Regions from separate parts of the Homo sapiens genome. Here regions 2 and 3 are each linked to region 1. Evidence: promoter capture Hi-C in 16 types of primary human blood cells and fetal thymus (Javierre and others, 2016). All regions are on one chromosome and are shown on one strand. Each heading gives the region's core, a stretch centred on a gene start or on the middle of the fragment in contact. The rest is flanking DNA. Distances are from core to core; before and after follow the strand shown.

Evidence for each region. The method cuts DNA at HindIII sites, captures the fragments that hold promoters and counts their contacts. A CHiCAGO score of 5 or more calls a contact.
Region 2: a contact is called between a fragment that was not itself captured here and the fragment with the promoter of CLCN1 in region 1, in 2 of 17 cell types (M0 macrophages and M2 macrophages). The highest score is 6.8, in M0 macrophages.
Region 3: a fragment that was not itself captured here is called in contact with the fragment with the promoter of CLCN1 in region 1 in 1 of 17 cell types (M0 macrophages); the score reaches 7.6 in M0 macrophages.

Annotation. Positions count from the first base shown.
Region 1 is chr7:143,314,096-143,318,690 of GRCh38, reverse strand. CLCN1 (chloride voltage-gated channel 1) reads right to left here and starts at 2,580. Exons shown (of 23, transcript NM_000083.3): 1 at 2,299-2,580. The coding sequence starts at 2,478. The HindIII fragment of the contact is 3,265 bases long and covers 1,764-4,595 here.
Region 2 is chr7:143,221,205-143,225,799 of GRCh38, reverse strand. It overlaps TAS2R40 (taste 2 receptor member 40), which reads right to left and starts at 3,763. Exons shown (of 1, transcript NM_176882.2): 1 at 2,721-3,763. The coding sequence starts at 3,721. The coding sequence ends at 2,750. The HindIII fragment of the contact is 1,727 bases long and covers 1,533-3,259 here.
Region 3 is chr7:143,389,531-143,394,125 of GRCh38, reverse strand. ZYX (zyxin) reads right to left here. Exons shown (of 10, transcript NM_003461.5): 9 at 4,149-4,269; 10 at 3,015-3,548. The coding sequence ends at 3,444. It overlaps EPHA1 (EPH receptor A1), which reads left to right. Exons shown (of 18, transcript NM_005232.5): 16 at 262-455; 17 at 2,351-2,506; 18 at 2,591-2,997. The coding sequence ends at 2,669. Among named protein-coding and RNA genes, the nearest start is that of MIR6892, 9.1 kb to the right of the region's middle. RefSeq lists enhancers at 356-650, 1,960-2,560. The HindIII fragment of the contact is 4,564 bases long and covers 387-4,595 here.

The DNA.
Region 1 (4,595 bases), core at 1,331-3,830:
GGGTTGCTTCATATCATCATACCTGGGCTGGGAAAACACTTAAAGGGCCAGATCTGTTCTGGCTGGTCCCATGCAGGGCAGGGTGAGGGGAGGGCAAGGGAGAAGTCAAAACTCAAGTCTACAAGTGATACAATGTCTGGGATTTGTTAAAAAGTATTCCAAGGTGGAAGCAAGGCTCAGTGGCTCACCCCTGTAACCCCAGCACTTTAGGAGCCTGAGATGGGCAGGTTACCTGAGGTCAGGAGATCAAGACCAGCCTGACCAACATGGAGAAACCTCGTCTCTACTAAAAATACAAAAATTAGCCAGGCATGGTGGCGCATGCCTGTAATCTCAGCTACCTGGGAGGCGGAGGCAGGAGAATTGCTTGAACCAGGGAGGCGGAGATTGCGGTGAGCTGAGATCGCGCCATTGCATTCCAGCCTGGGCAACAAGAGCGAAACTCCATCTCAAAAACAAAAAACAAAAAACAAAAAACAAAAAAAAAGTATTCCATGGTGTGTAGAGTGGTGAGGGTGGGGAAGGGAAGAATAGATGGAACAATAGTGACAAAATATTGACAACTGGTGGGTACTTGGGGCTTCACTATACCATTCCATTTTTGTGTAAGTCTTCCATAATAAAAATTAAACAAAGAAAAACTAATCCAAACTCTTGTTTACTTTTGAGACCTGTAGAAAACAGGCCAATTCTACTCCCCAAACTAACCATAGCTTCCCAACACGAGAACTGTCATCAGGAAGTGCCATAATGGCACTGTTACTCAAGTTGCCATCCCACCCAGATACAACCATGTACACGAGTGAGAACACAGGGCCAGGGGGAGGGGTCTTCCCTCCTGCTGATCCCACACAGTGTTCAAAGGCCTAGTCAGACCCCGCTGTCTCCAAGAAACCTTCCCAATGCTCGATTCCAGCCTACACTGACCTGTATGTCCCTCTTCCCTACTGGGTCCCTAGCGCTGCCTTTGCAAATACTCCTGGGGGTTGGTCAGGGACTGAGAGCAGATCCTTTTGACCCCCAGTGCTGAGATCCCCTGCATAGCTCATGCCTCAGCTTCCCAGCCTTAAACCTAAAGGAACTGAAGGCTCCCTGTTAAAAAAAAAAAAAAGAAAGAAAAAAAAGCCTTTTAAGTTCTGACCAGACTGGGCACAGTGGTTAACACCTGTAATTCCAGCACTTTGGGAGGCCAAGGCGGGTGAATTACCTGAGGTCAGGAGTTCGAGACAGCCTGGCCAACATGGCAAAACCCCGTCTCTACTGAAAGTACAAAAATTTGCCAGGTATGGTGGCAGGTGCTTGTAATCCCAGCTACTCAGGAGGCTGAGGAAAGAGAATTGCTTGAACCCGGGAGGCGGAGGTCGCAGTGAGCCAAGATAGCACCACTGCACTCCAGCCTGGGAGACAGAGCGAGACTCCATCTCAAAAAAAAAAAAAAAAAAAAAAGTTCTGGCCAACTGCCCTCTAGACAAATTCTATCCTCTGTTATTCTCTGCATTCTTTGGAGGGAGAGGCACACTTACTTATTAACCATGACCTATCTTTTTCCATGACAATTTCACAACCTTTCCTTTAGTTGTGCCCATCCCCATTCCCCCTTTCCTAGGTGTTCATATCCCACCAATCCCACAGCGGGAGGCTGCTCATCCATAGACACTCCTAATTAGCCTGCATGCTTCTGTTGCTGGGATCACATCTCTGCCCTTTTCCAGGTGCCTAACACTTAATAGGTTCTTACTTGATCATCTTGCGACCTAAAAGCTTGTACATCTCTGCTCATTTTGACGTTGGTAGATCTTTGATCACTGATAAGCAATTCAGTCTGTTTTCTACACTTGCCCAATTCCTTTCTTCTGCCTTCTGCAGAAAGATTCATGTTTGTGTGTATTCTGCAGAGGGTCCCAGAGGCAGAAATCTGGCAGTGTCTACCTGTGGGTGAGGGTGTGGGAGACAGCTCCCAGCACACTGCAGTGTGGGCTCCTACGCAATCCACTCCACGTAGGTTATGTAAGCACGAGCTATTCATGCATGTGAGGCTCTGCTGTTTCCCCATATGATTTGGGTACTCTGTTGGTAAAGGTTGTATGAAAGTGCATGCATATCTCTCTAAGTGCATACTTAAGTGAGCCCAGACTTTCAAAGATTTTCATATTTTGAACACATCACCACGTACTTGTTTTTTAAGTTAAAAAAATGTAACACTGCTCCCTCTTTTCACCCAATTCCTCATTTTCACCAGTCTCTGGCACCACTGTCTCCCCTCATCCATGGCTCCCCTCTCCCCTTAGAGCACTTTACCTGTGTGGGGTGGACGTTGTGGCGGGGGCCTGCATCCTTCCGGAGCCTGTGCTGGAGGCCCCCATTCTCAGAGGGCAGTCCGTAGCTGGTGCAGTGTTCAAAGGGCATATACTGGTACTGGGGGTCACTACCCCACCAGCTTTGTTCACCCCCACGCTGCTGTGACCGGGATTGCTCCATATTCCCTCCCCCCGAGCCCCGGCCAGGCCTTGGCCTGCTTGCCCCTGTCCTTCCCCCAGTGTAGCTCCTTAAGCCTCTGCTCTTGCTGTCCCCAAGGCGTCTGGGGCAGCATGCCCACCTCCAGCTATTTATAGACCCCTCTCCGTCACATGACCCCCCACTGCCACATCTGATCTGCTTGGGGTCGAAGCAGGTGTGAGTGCAGTGTGGGGGTGGGGGTTGGGATGAGAACCTGAGGGACAGCCCCACAGGGAATTCCCTCTGCTGAGCCAGTGGCATTGTCCCCCTTCTTAGTCACCAGTAGTAGGCTTCCAGCTCCATGTCACTGGTCCCTCTATAAATATCGCCTGGACCAGGATGAGAAACTGCTGAGTATGCTCTCAAACCTATGTGTAGAGCCGGATCTGCATGGAAGCCCTCCAGTTGCCCATCTCTCTTCTTCAGGATGCGGAAGGTGAGGGGTGGGTGCTGGATAAAGATGAAGCGACTCGAAGTTCTGGAAACACTGGCACATTAACTCACCTGGGAAAGTAACTGGTGCCTCTCTGCCACATCTCCTGGCCAGCTTGTTCCCAACTCTGTGTCCACCCAGGGTTCTGTCTGGCCAGCTCTGCCAGCCCATCCCATGTCCAGCGTTCTTCTCTAGCTCTTTGCCCTTCTGTCTGCCAGAGGCTGCTAATAACAGCTTGGGGGCATCCCCTGATCCCATCCTTATCACTCACTGGGTGTGGAACACTTATGGGAAGTGGGAAGTCGAGGGTCGGTAATAGCCTTGGGTTCTAGAATTTCTCCCACTTCCCAGACTGTTAGGTGTCAGCCACACTGCCAACCCGGAGGGACTGAGCTTCCATTTGGACTGTGGAGTGCCCACACTGGCTCCATCAGATAGATAACAAGGGAGATAACAGGGGAGAATCGAAAGTAGAAAGAGGCACAGGGAAGGGAGAGGTGGGAAAGGGGTGAGGGCTTCTCATGACAAGCCCGACAAACATGAAAGATGATGGGGAAGTGCTCTCTGCTATTCTTCCCTTTTCAGGTCAATAAATACTTTTTTGGCCAAGGACAAACTTTTCTTCCTGGCATCACGTTATAAAACCAATTTTCCTATGACATGTCTTCCCTATGAACTCTTCACTGTAGGAGAAAAGATATGAACTGAGCCAAAGTAAAGTTTAGGATGCATTACCAAGTGGGGTCTGTCCCAGGACAGTCCAAGTTCAGGGACTGCAGGGTAGGGACACCAAACATCTGGTCTACAATGTGATTTTGACCTAGGCTAAATGGAACCACCCAAAGCAGGAGGGAAGCCAATATCATTAAAAGTACTTTTTCTAGGGCCTCAACATCATTAATCATCAGGAAACCAAAATCATAATGCAATATCGCCTCATACCTGTTAGGATGGCTATTATCAAAAAAGCAAGAGATAGCCATTATTATGGCTATGGATATTATGGTTCATGCTTATAATCCCAGCAATGTGGGTGACCAAGGCGGGTGGAATGCTTAAGCCCAGCAGTTCGAGACCAACCTGGCAACATGGGGAGACCCTGTCTCTATAAAAATTATAAAAATCAGCCATGTGTGGTGGTGCACGCCTGTAGTCCCAGCTACTTGGGAGGCTGAGACAGGAGGATCACTGAAGCCCGGGAGGTGGAGGCTGCAGTGAGCTGGGAAGGCACCACTGCAATCCATCCTGGTCTACAGAGTGAGATTATGTCTCAAAAAAAAATTAAATAAAAAGATGAGATAAATGTTAGTGAGAATGCAGAGAAAAGGGAACCCTTGTGCACTGTTGGTGGGAATGTAAACTGGTATAGTCATTATGAAAAACAGTATAAAAGTTCCTCAAAAGGTAAAAACAGAACTGCCATATGACTCAGCAACTCCCATACATCCAAGGGAAAGGAAATCAGTATCTCAAAGAGGTATCTGCACTCCCATGTTCATTACAGCATTATTCACAATAGCCTAGAAATGGAAACAACCTAAGTGTCCACTAACAGATGAATAATGTCATGTGTATATAAATATATATAATGGAATACTATTCAACCCTGACAAAGAAGAAAATCCTGCCACTTGTGACAACATGGATGAACTTGGAGGACATTACG
Region 2 (4,595 bases), core at 1,147-3,646, 93 kb after region 1:
TCTCAAAAAAAAAAAAAAAAGAAAACTATATATATATTCCTTGTCTCCAGAGGAGAGGGAGAAAACGTAAGACAGATGGGAAGGCTTCCTCTCTCGGTGTCTTTTTTTTCTTTCCTTCCATGATCTTTCCTAATGCACAAGTTGCCCTGTCTCCAACAAGACATAATTAGTTAGCCCTTGGTTTCTGCTCCCCTCCCCCAGCACAAGACATTTTAGACTGGTTGGACTTATAGTTTCTTTTCTTTTTATTACATAGATGTTTCTTCCCTGCTGCCCCAAGTAAAGAATGCCTGAGAGAATAACAGATTTCCTGTAGAATAAAAGCAAAGAAAAGCCAGAACCACAGTGGAATTTTAGCAGACACCGAAGTAGTTGGAAGGGGAAGATGATACTGGATTGTGGGACAATCTGGTGCCCATAAAGTCATAGCCCTTAGACTGGCCATGGCTGCCAGTCTAGCCTTTATTTGCAAGGACTCGACCAGGTATGAGGAAAGAAGCCAGATACCCTGCCTCTGGGCTGGGCCTGCCAGACTGGAATCCATTGCTAACCAAAGTCCCCTTACCTGCTCCACATGCTAGATGAATATTCAGAGTGACTTTGTGGGTAAAGGAATCCTTCACTCTATCACTTTCAACATCCCGCAGGGCTGTGGGGCGAGGGAGATGATGTAGAGTTTGCAAGGTGAAAACCTGTAATAATATTGAGACCACAGCAAGCCGGGCTTTGCATTTGGTTACAGACTTTTGTCCAGCAGAGTCGATTATTGTCTTCATTTAGGACTTCTGATTGCTGTCTAAAGCCAGACAACTTGAAGACTAGGTATTCTGGGTCTTTCTGAGTGCTTACTTGGGTTTTACATACAGAAGAAAGAGAATTGGAGAGAATTTTATCTCGTTGAAGGCAGGCCAACATGTGCATCGATAAGGATGTTATCATCCTTGGAGCTTTTGTTAGCTATGTGCTGCCTTAGGCTCTTGCTAGCAATGAGATGATATTTCTTCATAGTAAGTATGGAGTTATCCACTTTGTGGTCTTGACATGGTTCATGTTAATATAATGGCAACTTTAAATCAATTTTCTCTCTAACTCTGTAATGCATCAGAGAACCCTTAGTGGGTACATGACCCTTTTATCAATATATATAACTTGGAAGAAAATGTATATTTCTCTATTCTAGGGACTGGAATAAAACTTCAATATCTAATTTGTCTTACTATAACAAATACCGCCTGAAATAGTCATATAAATAACTATAGCTTAAGAAAACTATCAAAAATGTGTGTTTTATTAATATTTTACTTTTCAGGTAAATAAGTCCCAAGCTGTCTGAGCTATAAAGGAATCTGTGTGTGTGTGTGTGTGTGTGTGTGTGTGTATGCCATGTGTCTGTGTGTATGCCGTGTGTGTGTGTGGTTTTTGCAGTTTATGGATGTAAGGAACTCTCTCTGAAATGTGTGCTTGAGAGCGCTGGAGCTCAGAACTAGACTTTGCTACTGACCTCATATTTTCATTTGGGGGCTACCTAAGCTTGGTATGATCCACAGCATTCTTTTTTCATTTTCCTCAATAATCATGATTTAAAACTTACCTAATAAAAGACAACTTCAGATTCCTAACGTTCAAGCTCTAAGATATCTGGGGAGAGGGTGTCCAATGTTTTGTGAACAGCTCTTTGAGACAATGCTGCTGGAACCATCCTGAACAATGACAATGGAGAATAATGTTTTTCCTCTTCTCCAGCAGCCTGCCCCAAGTAACCCGCTCTTGCCCCACTATTTACTTCAAGGTAACCCAGAACTGGTAAAACCAGAGGCACAGGTGCCGCTAGCATTGCCACAGAGTCAGGAGCTGAGCAAAACAGACGCTTACTTACTCTGGCCTCTTCCTTTTCTCTTTCTGCTTCCTGCCCACTTCACTCTTTTCCCTGCATTCTTTCTTTCCTCTCTGCTCACTTTGTCCCCTCCCATTTGGAGAAATAAAGCATTGAACTGACCCTTCACATATCCATCTGCCGTTCTATAACTCATCTTTATCTGCAAACATCCTCTCTAGACTATTGGTTTTTACCCATCCCCTCCCTTTTGGCATTATCTTCTGGAACTCCTGGGATCAGGATGTCACCCTATCACTCCACTAATGGCACACATGGCATCCTTTTAGTCAAATCCAGAGCCTTTTTCTTCACCCTTTACTTTCCTCGGAACTCTGCAGCACTTGATAATTTCCAGCAGCCTTTCTTTCCTGAATCTTCTTTTTCTGTAGCCACTCTGGTTTCCCTTCTACCCCGTGGACTGAGTGCTGTGCTCTGCTTCACCAGCCCTAACTGTGTGTTAGTTGGGTGTCTTAAGTAGGATGATCATGTAATTCTTCATCCAGACCATGATATTCTTGAGAATTAAAGGATGCTCAATTGACAACAGACAATAAACAGAGATTGTCCCTGGCAAACCGATATGTCTGGCCACCCTCTCCTTAAGGCTCAGGAGGAGAAGAAAGTGGAGAGATCTCAGGGCAGGATATGAATGAACATAGTTCAAGGAGCTTTCAAAGTCCATCTTCAGGTTTCTTAGTTACTTCTGTTTAGAATCTCAAGTTAAAAATTCAGCTTCATATTTATAAAAGGATCACGTTATCTGAGAAGTGTCAGAGCAGGTTTGGGAGAGAAGAGACGGGTGAGGAGAGAGTTCTACCTGAGGCAAAGGCAGAAGTGGTTGGACCAGGTCCCGCAGAACTCCGTGAGTTCCAGTCACAGAGTCTGCCCTTTTAGGTAAAGAGGAACTTGGTGCTGAAACCGCTTCCAGGCTCTTCTCAGCCCAGGGTTGCCCAAGATCAGTTGTACTGAGTGGCCGGCAGGGTAGGCAGCCATGATGATCTTGCACAAAATATTCCAGGAACTGTAAGTGTCAAAGATGTTGGACGTGGAAAGAAATAGAGCAATTGCATTGAAAATGTAGAGGATGAGAAAGTAGCTGGTGGCTTTGATGGCCCCTATGTGAGCCTTCATGCTGGGGTCCCTGGACCCTGTGGCATTGCTTCCCATGTGTAGGGTGTGTCTCTTGAGAGAGAGGATCAGCAGGGTGGCTGCCAGGATGAACATGATCAGAGGAACGAAGATCCCCATGTTATAGAAAAATACCAGGTTGACCATATTGGTCTCAGAGAAGTACTTCTTCTCCGTGGAGTTGGAGGAGGGGATAGGAATGGAGCTATTCACATACACATTGAAGACATCTCTCGAGAGAGGAAAGCTGAAGCTTAAGGAAACCAACACTGACAGCCTGAGAAGCCAAGGCATCAGCACTATGATTTTCCTCTTCATCAGGAAGAACAAAGGATGATTGAAGTTTGCAATTCTAAGACAATAGAAGACTTTGAGCCAGGCAGCAAACCAGAGATTGGAATGGTTCAGAAAGACAGTGATGACTTTGAAGAGGATATACACTGAGTTTTGGTTATAAACAATTCGGAATAGCAGACTGAAAATGTTCTCCAGCATCATCCAAATCTGTAGCAAGAGCCTGGAAAAGCTCAGCATCAACATAATGCGGTCACCAGTGGGGAGTGTTTTGCCCCTGGCCCACTCAGCCCCATAGATGGCCGTGATGAAGCCACTCCCAAGGATGCCAGTGATGCACTCTATTCCGGAGACCACCAAAGTGAAGGTGACCTTGAACTTGGATATGTCTTTATCTGTGGCATCTGTGTTCACCGTTGCCATTCTCTTTGATCCTGACTTTCAGGTTTCTGCGCCAAGAATGGGTAACTGCTCTGCAATCTTCTGACCCTTGCTCAATGTTATAATTTCTGCCGCCCTCATTAATGGTTATTTCCAATTTTTCTCCATTTGTTTATCACATGACTACAAGTTAGAGGCTTCACATGCAAATAATGAGAGGATCTGGTTACTGGGTCTGTCTCAATTTTTCATAAAGATACATTTGTCTTGGGCTTTCAGAAGCTCACTGGAAATAATTTGAGACATGTTTCTAGCTCAACACCTTCTTACCTTATTTACTTTAAGTCCACATTTACCTGATAAGCAATGAATACAAGGCCTTTTTACTTGTCTCACAAGATCTCTGTTACCTGCTAAATTATTTGTAAAAGCTCATACAGCTTTTAAAATCTGTTTTCCCCACTTCTTTTCTTGTCTCTCTTATTTTGGGAGAGAGTTTTATTTTGATAGTTACCATGTTTGTGAATAAGAAATTCCCATAAGCTCATATATGAACATCTTTTACTTAGAATTGAGTTTCTTCCAAAAAGGCCTGCTATTATAATGTCCTCGAATAGTATATAGAAAAGCCAAAATTGGATGCTATTCGAGTTGGAGAGAAGGAAGTCTCCATAGTCCCAGTTTTTATTGTTTGTGTATGTGTCATCAATTTCAGCTTACTGAGATCCCACATGACTATTTGAGCTCAGAATCAGGTAGAATGAGCCTGGGGAGAATTCAGTGTTCTGGACATGGTGTTGAAGTTTGGAAATGTGATAAGGTACTATGACTTGAAATTTAATTTCCTACTTTTTAACCCTGGCTGTGAACCAGAATGAACTCTGGCACTTTACAAGAATATGTAGATGCCCAGGAC
Region 3 (4,595 bases), core at 1,419-3,918, 75 kb before region 1:
CATGGCCTTTTCCTGCAAATATCTTTATTTATTCATGACCTTCAGTTTTTCTGTACTCCTGGCTCCTCTGGTTCTTCACCTCATGCCCTGCTCTCTTTACTCCTCCCACCCTGATCCTCCCACTGTGATCGTCCCACCCTGGTCCTCCCACCTCCTCCCATCCTAGGATCTCCACTGCAATTATCTTGTGTGACCGTCGGTTTCTCATGGGCCTCCAGGTTAGCTTGCTACTCTAGAGCATCCTCCTGTCCCGCCGTGCAGGTTATGAAGAGCATTGAGGATGGGTACCGGTTGCCCCCTCCTGTGGACTGCCCTGCCCCTCTGTATGAGCTCATGAAGAACTGCTGGGCATATGACCGTGCCCGCCGGCCACACTTCCAGAAGCTTCAGGCACATCTGGAGCAACTGCTTGCCAACCCCCACTCCCTGCGGACCATTGCCAACTTTGACCCCAGGTAACCATGCAGGGGAAGGACTAGGGAACCCAGAGGCAGCGCTAGGAGAGTGGAAATGGGCATTCAGCCAATCTTCTTTGAGCGCTGGGCCTGGGGAGCTCTGGACCAAGTCCAGTGTATGAGGCAAGACGTGCCCTTGGGGAGAGTCCAAGAGGTCAGCTTTAGATTATGCATATTTGCAGAAAATCAGTTATGGCTGGGCCCCAGTTCCCTCACTTCACCTGGGCTTGGGGGTGGGGGGCCCATCTTTTCTCTTCTCAGGCAGCCTCACCTAAGACACTCCCGGAGCCATCCTTGCCAATCCCACTGTGTTGTACTGTGGCCCATTCTTGGGATGCATCCCCTTCCCCATAGAAATATTTCTGCATGTGAAGGAAAGGGTCATCCATTCATGAAGTTTTGGAGGACCTACTGGTGCAAGCTGTTTGCTGGACATTGGAGATACAGCTGCACTTATTACCCAAGCTCCAGGGAGCTTGGGCAGCCAGGCTGGGGTGGGGTAGGTAGCAGCAGCCTTGCAGGGTTTGGGAAGGCTTCTGGATCACATGGCTAGTCTGTGGGGAGCTGAGGGCTGGTAGGTTGCAGATAGTGCAGGATGGCTGCGGCATTGTGTTTAGGAATAGCAGCCATGAGGCTGGAGAGACAACCAGTCAACACAAAGAGGACCAGCCCTGTTGAGAAGTTTGGATTTTACCATGAGTGCAGAGTTGTTGTTTTTTTTTCCACCCCGAGACGGAGTCTTGCTCTGTCGCCCAGGCTGGAGTAACGCAGCGCAATCTCAGCTCACTGCAGCCTCCACCTCCAGGGTTCAAGTGATTCTCCTGTCTCGGCCTCCTGAGTAGCTGGGATTACAGGCACATACCACCATGCCCGGCTAATTTTTGTATTTTTAGTAGAAACGGGGTTTCACCATGTTGGCCAAGCTGGTCTCGAACTCCTGACCTCATGATCCGCCCACCTCGGCCTCCCAAAGTGCTGGGATTACAGGCGTGGGCCACCTCGCCTGGCCTGGAGAACCAATTCTTAAAAGCTGTCCACAGGATGGGGGGACATGGTCAGAGCTGCATTTTACCAAAAATATGGCCTGAGTGTAGAGAATGAACTGATGGGGGGGTGGGGGAGCGCTCAGGTTGGGGAAGCAGGCAAGGCTGTTCTTCAAGTGCTTTATTGGGTAGCCAGCCTGGCCAACTGGCCTCTGTATCCAACCACCATATATAACCTTGTTTCTGGGAGAAAACATGCTCTAAGTTCCAACTTTTGAAACTATCTTTTGGAGCGCAACTCCCTCATACACTGGAGACTGCGTGTGCTAATCTTTCTGGAATGCTGGATATTTTTTCCCCCAGCAGATTTACTTTGCTAATGGTTTTTGGCTCTGGCGAGCTTTAGTACAGGAACACTCATTGTATTGTGGGTGTCAGAGTGCAAGAATAACAGCCGAAGCTGAAGGTGGTGAGGAAGGACTGCTCCCGGAACTCAAGCAGCCACTATGGAAAAAGGCAGGACCACGCCCAGGTGCCAGGCCTCTGTTCTCCTACTTTCAGCTTCCTCTCAGACAGGAGACTTCCATGTCTTAACCAGCCCTCAGTCAGGTGCCCAGAACCGGCCACTCCAGCAGGAGACCGGCTGGTGATCCCCTTCTGTTGGGGCTTCCCAGGACAGTCCCTTCCTATAGGCCTGTCGACATAGCAGGACTGTCAGCCAGTCCACTGTTGTGAGCACACCAGGAAACAGGCCAGGAAGTGGGCTCAGAGATAATGGTGGGGTCAATCCACAGTCTAGATGATCTCTGTGCCCAGACACCGAACTTCAGTGCTGGCTGCTGATGCTCAGAGGCCAAGGCCAACCAGATCAGCCCATGTACCCGCTGTGACTGACATGCCCATGTCCCACAGGATGACTCTTCGCCTGCCCAGCCTGAGTGGCTCAGATGGGATCCCATATCGAACCGTCTCTGAGTGGCTCGAGTCCATACGCATGAAACGCTACATCCTGCACTTCCACTCGGCTGGGCTGGACACCATGGAGTGTGTGCTGGAGCTGACCGCTGAGTAAGGAGCTGGAGCTGTCTGGGCAGGGGAGGGCTGCGGGGGTGGAGCCTCCGGACTCATGCCCCCACCCTTCCTTGCCCACAGGGACCTGACGCAGATGGGAATCACACTGCCCGGGCACCAGAAGCGCATTCTTTGCAGTATTCAGGGATTCAAGGACTGATCCCTCCTCTCACCCCATGCCCAATCAGGGTGCAAGGAGCAAGGACGGGGCCAAGGTCGCTCATGGTCACTCCCTGCGCCCCTTCCCACAACCTGCCAGACTAGGCTATCGGTGCTGCTTCTGCCCACTTTCAGGAGAACCCTGCTCTGCACCCCAGAAAACCTCTTTGTTTTAAAAGGGAGGTGGGGGTAGAAGTAAAAGGATGATCATGGGAGGGAGCTGAGGGGTTAATATATATACATACATACACATATATATATTTTTGTAAATAAACAGGAACTGATTTTCTGCCTCCATCCCACCCATGAGGGCTGCAGGCACTACAAAAGAGCTGACTACTGAGAATTCTGGAAAACAAGGTTTTTTTTTATTTGTAGCTATAGCTACAACTTGGCAGCATGGGGGAGGGTGGGAATGTCCTGGAGGGTCTCCCAGCCCTCCGCAAGCAGAGTACAAAGGCTGCTCGGGGGGCCGGCCGAGGGCGCGGGTGCAGCAGTGAAAGCAGCAGCACTAAACCTGGTGCCCCCCTCAGGTGGGGTGTCTGGAAGACGGTGGGCAATCCCTGCAGGATGGGCGAGGACCAGACCCCAGGGCGGGGATCCTGCATCCCTAGACCATGTTGGGTCCTGGGTCAGGGCACCTGGGATGCTAGGGAGGGGTTGGAAATGGGAGGGGCTAGACATCAAAACAATAACTGAGGTGGGGGCAGGTGGTCTCAGTGTGGGTGGTCCACAATGGGGCATGGACTGCGGTCTGAAGAGGGCCTGTCCTCACTCAGGTCTGGGCTCTAGCAGTGTGGCACTTCCGACAGAGCACGTGACCGTCCAGGGGGAAGCAGCCATTGTCATCTGCCTCAATCGACAGGGGCTTCCCGCAGTCCTGGGAAGAAGGAAGGGTGAGGGGCACTGGACCGGAAGGCCCCTGCTCTGCTCCACCCTACCCCACCCCATCCAGCTCCATCTTGGAATTAGAAAGATGCTTCATGGCTCAGAGCTGGTGTCATCGCTTTTTCCAGCCACACCCAACTCCCCATCCCTATCCTACTTCCAGTCACCCACTAGGACCTTCCTGCAAGAGGGCAAGCAGTGGGTAGAGCTGCTCCCAAGGTGCTTGCTCCCCTGCCCACCACCACCCTAATAAAATAGAGGTTGGCTCACCTCCATTCGAAGACCTCTTCTCTCAGCTCCTGTTTCCCCATCCCCTACCACGGTAAAACACCATGCCCTTCTTCTCTCCTATTGGCTTGTCCCATTTCTTGGCTTATCCATGACTCAAAGTGACCTCAGAAGCCCCACAGCCCCATTTCCTGCAGTGGCAGGAAGCATTCTGGCAGGACAGATGGGGTGCCACCATGAGCCACCCTCAAAATCACAGCCCTGTTTCCTGAATGCTGGTGCTTTCCACCTCCCAGTTAGTAAGCAGCATCTCCCGCCACCTCCTGGTCAGAACCTGCCCAAGGAGTCCAGAGGGATGGCTGACCTCACACTTGTAACACTTCATGTGGAAGTTCTTGTCCAGGGCGACCACTCGCACAGTCTCATCTCGGCCAGGCTCAGGCATGATGGGCTCAGAGCAGACGGAGCACCTCGGGGCGTACTGCCTGGAAGGGGCAGAAAGGGCCAGCCGAGTTAGCCAGGGCTTTCATCCCCGGTGTGCGCACGCATAAGCCAGGTTGGGCAGCAAGGAAGCAGACTTCTCTGCCCTGCATCTCCAGGTGAAGGAAGCTCACCAGAAGGGCCTAAGAGTGAGACACCATGACTGGCCCTCATCAAAGGGAATTTCCTGCCTCACCAGTCACTCTCCCAAAGCAAGGGAGCCTCCCACACACCTGCCACGGTGTTCTCTCCCACTCGACCCTTACTGTCCCATTCACACTGCAGCTCCTGCAGAAAGCCAGCCCTGAGGTACCCCTCCCATCCCATCCTG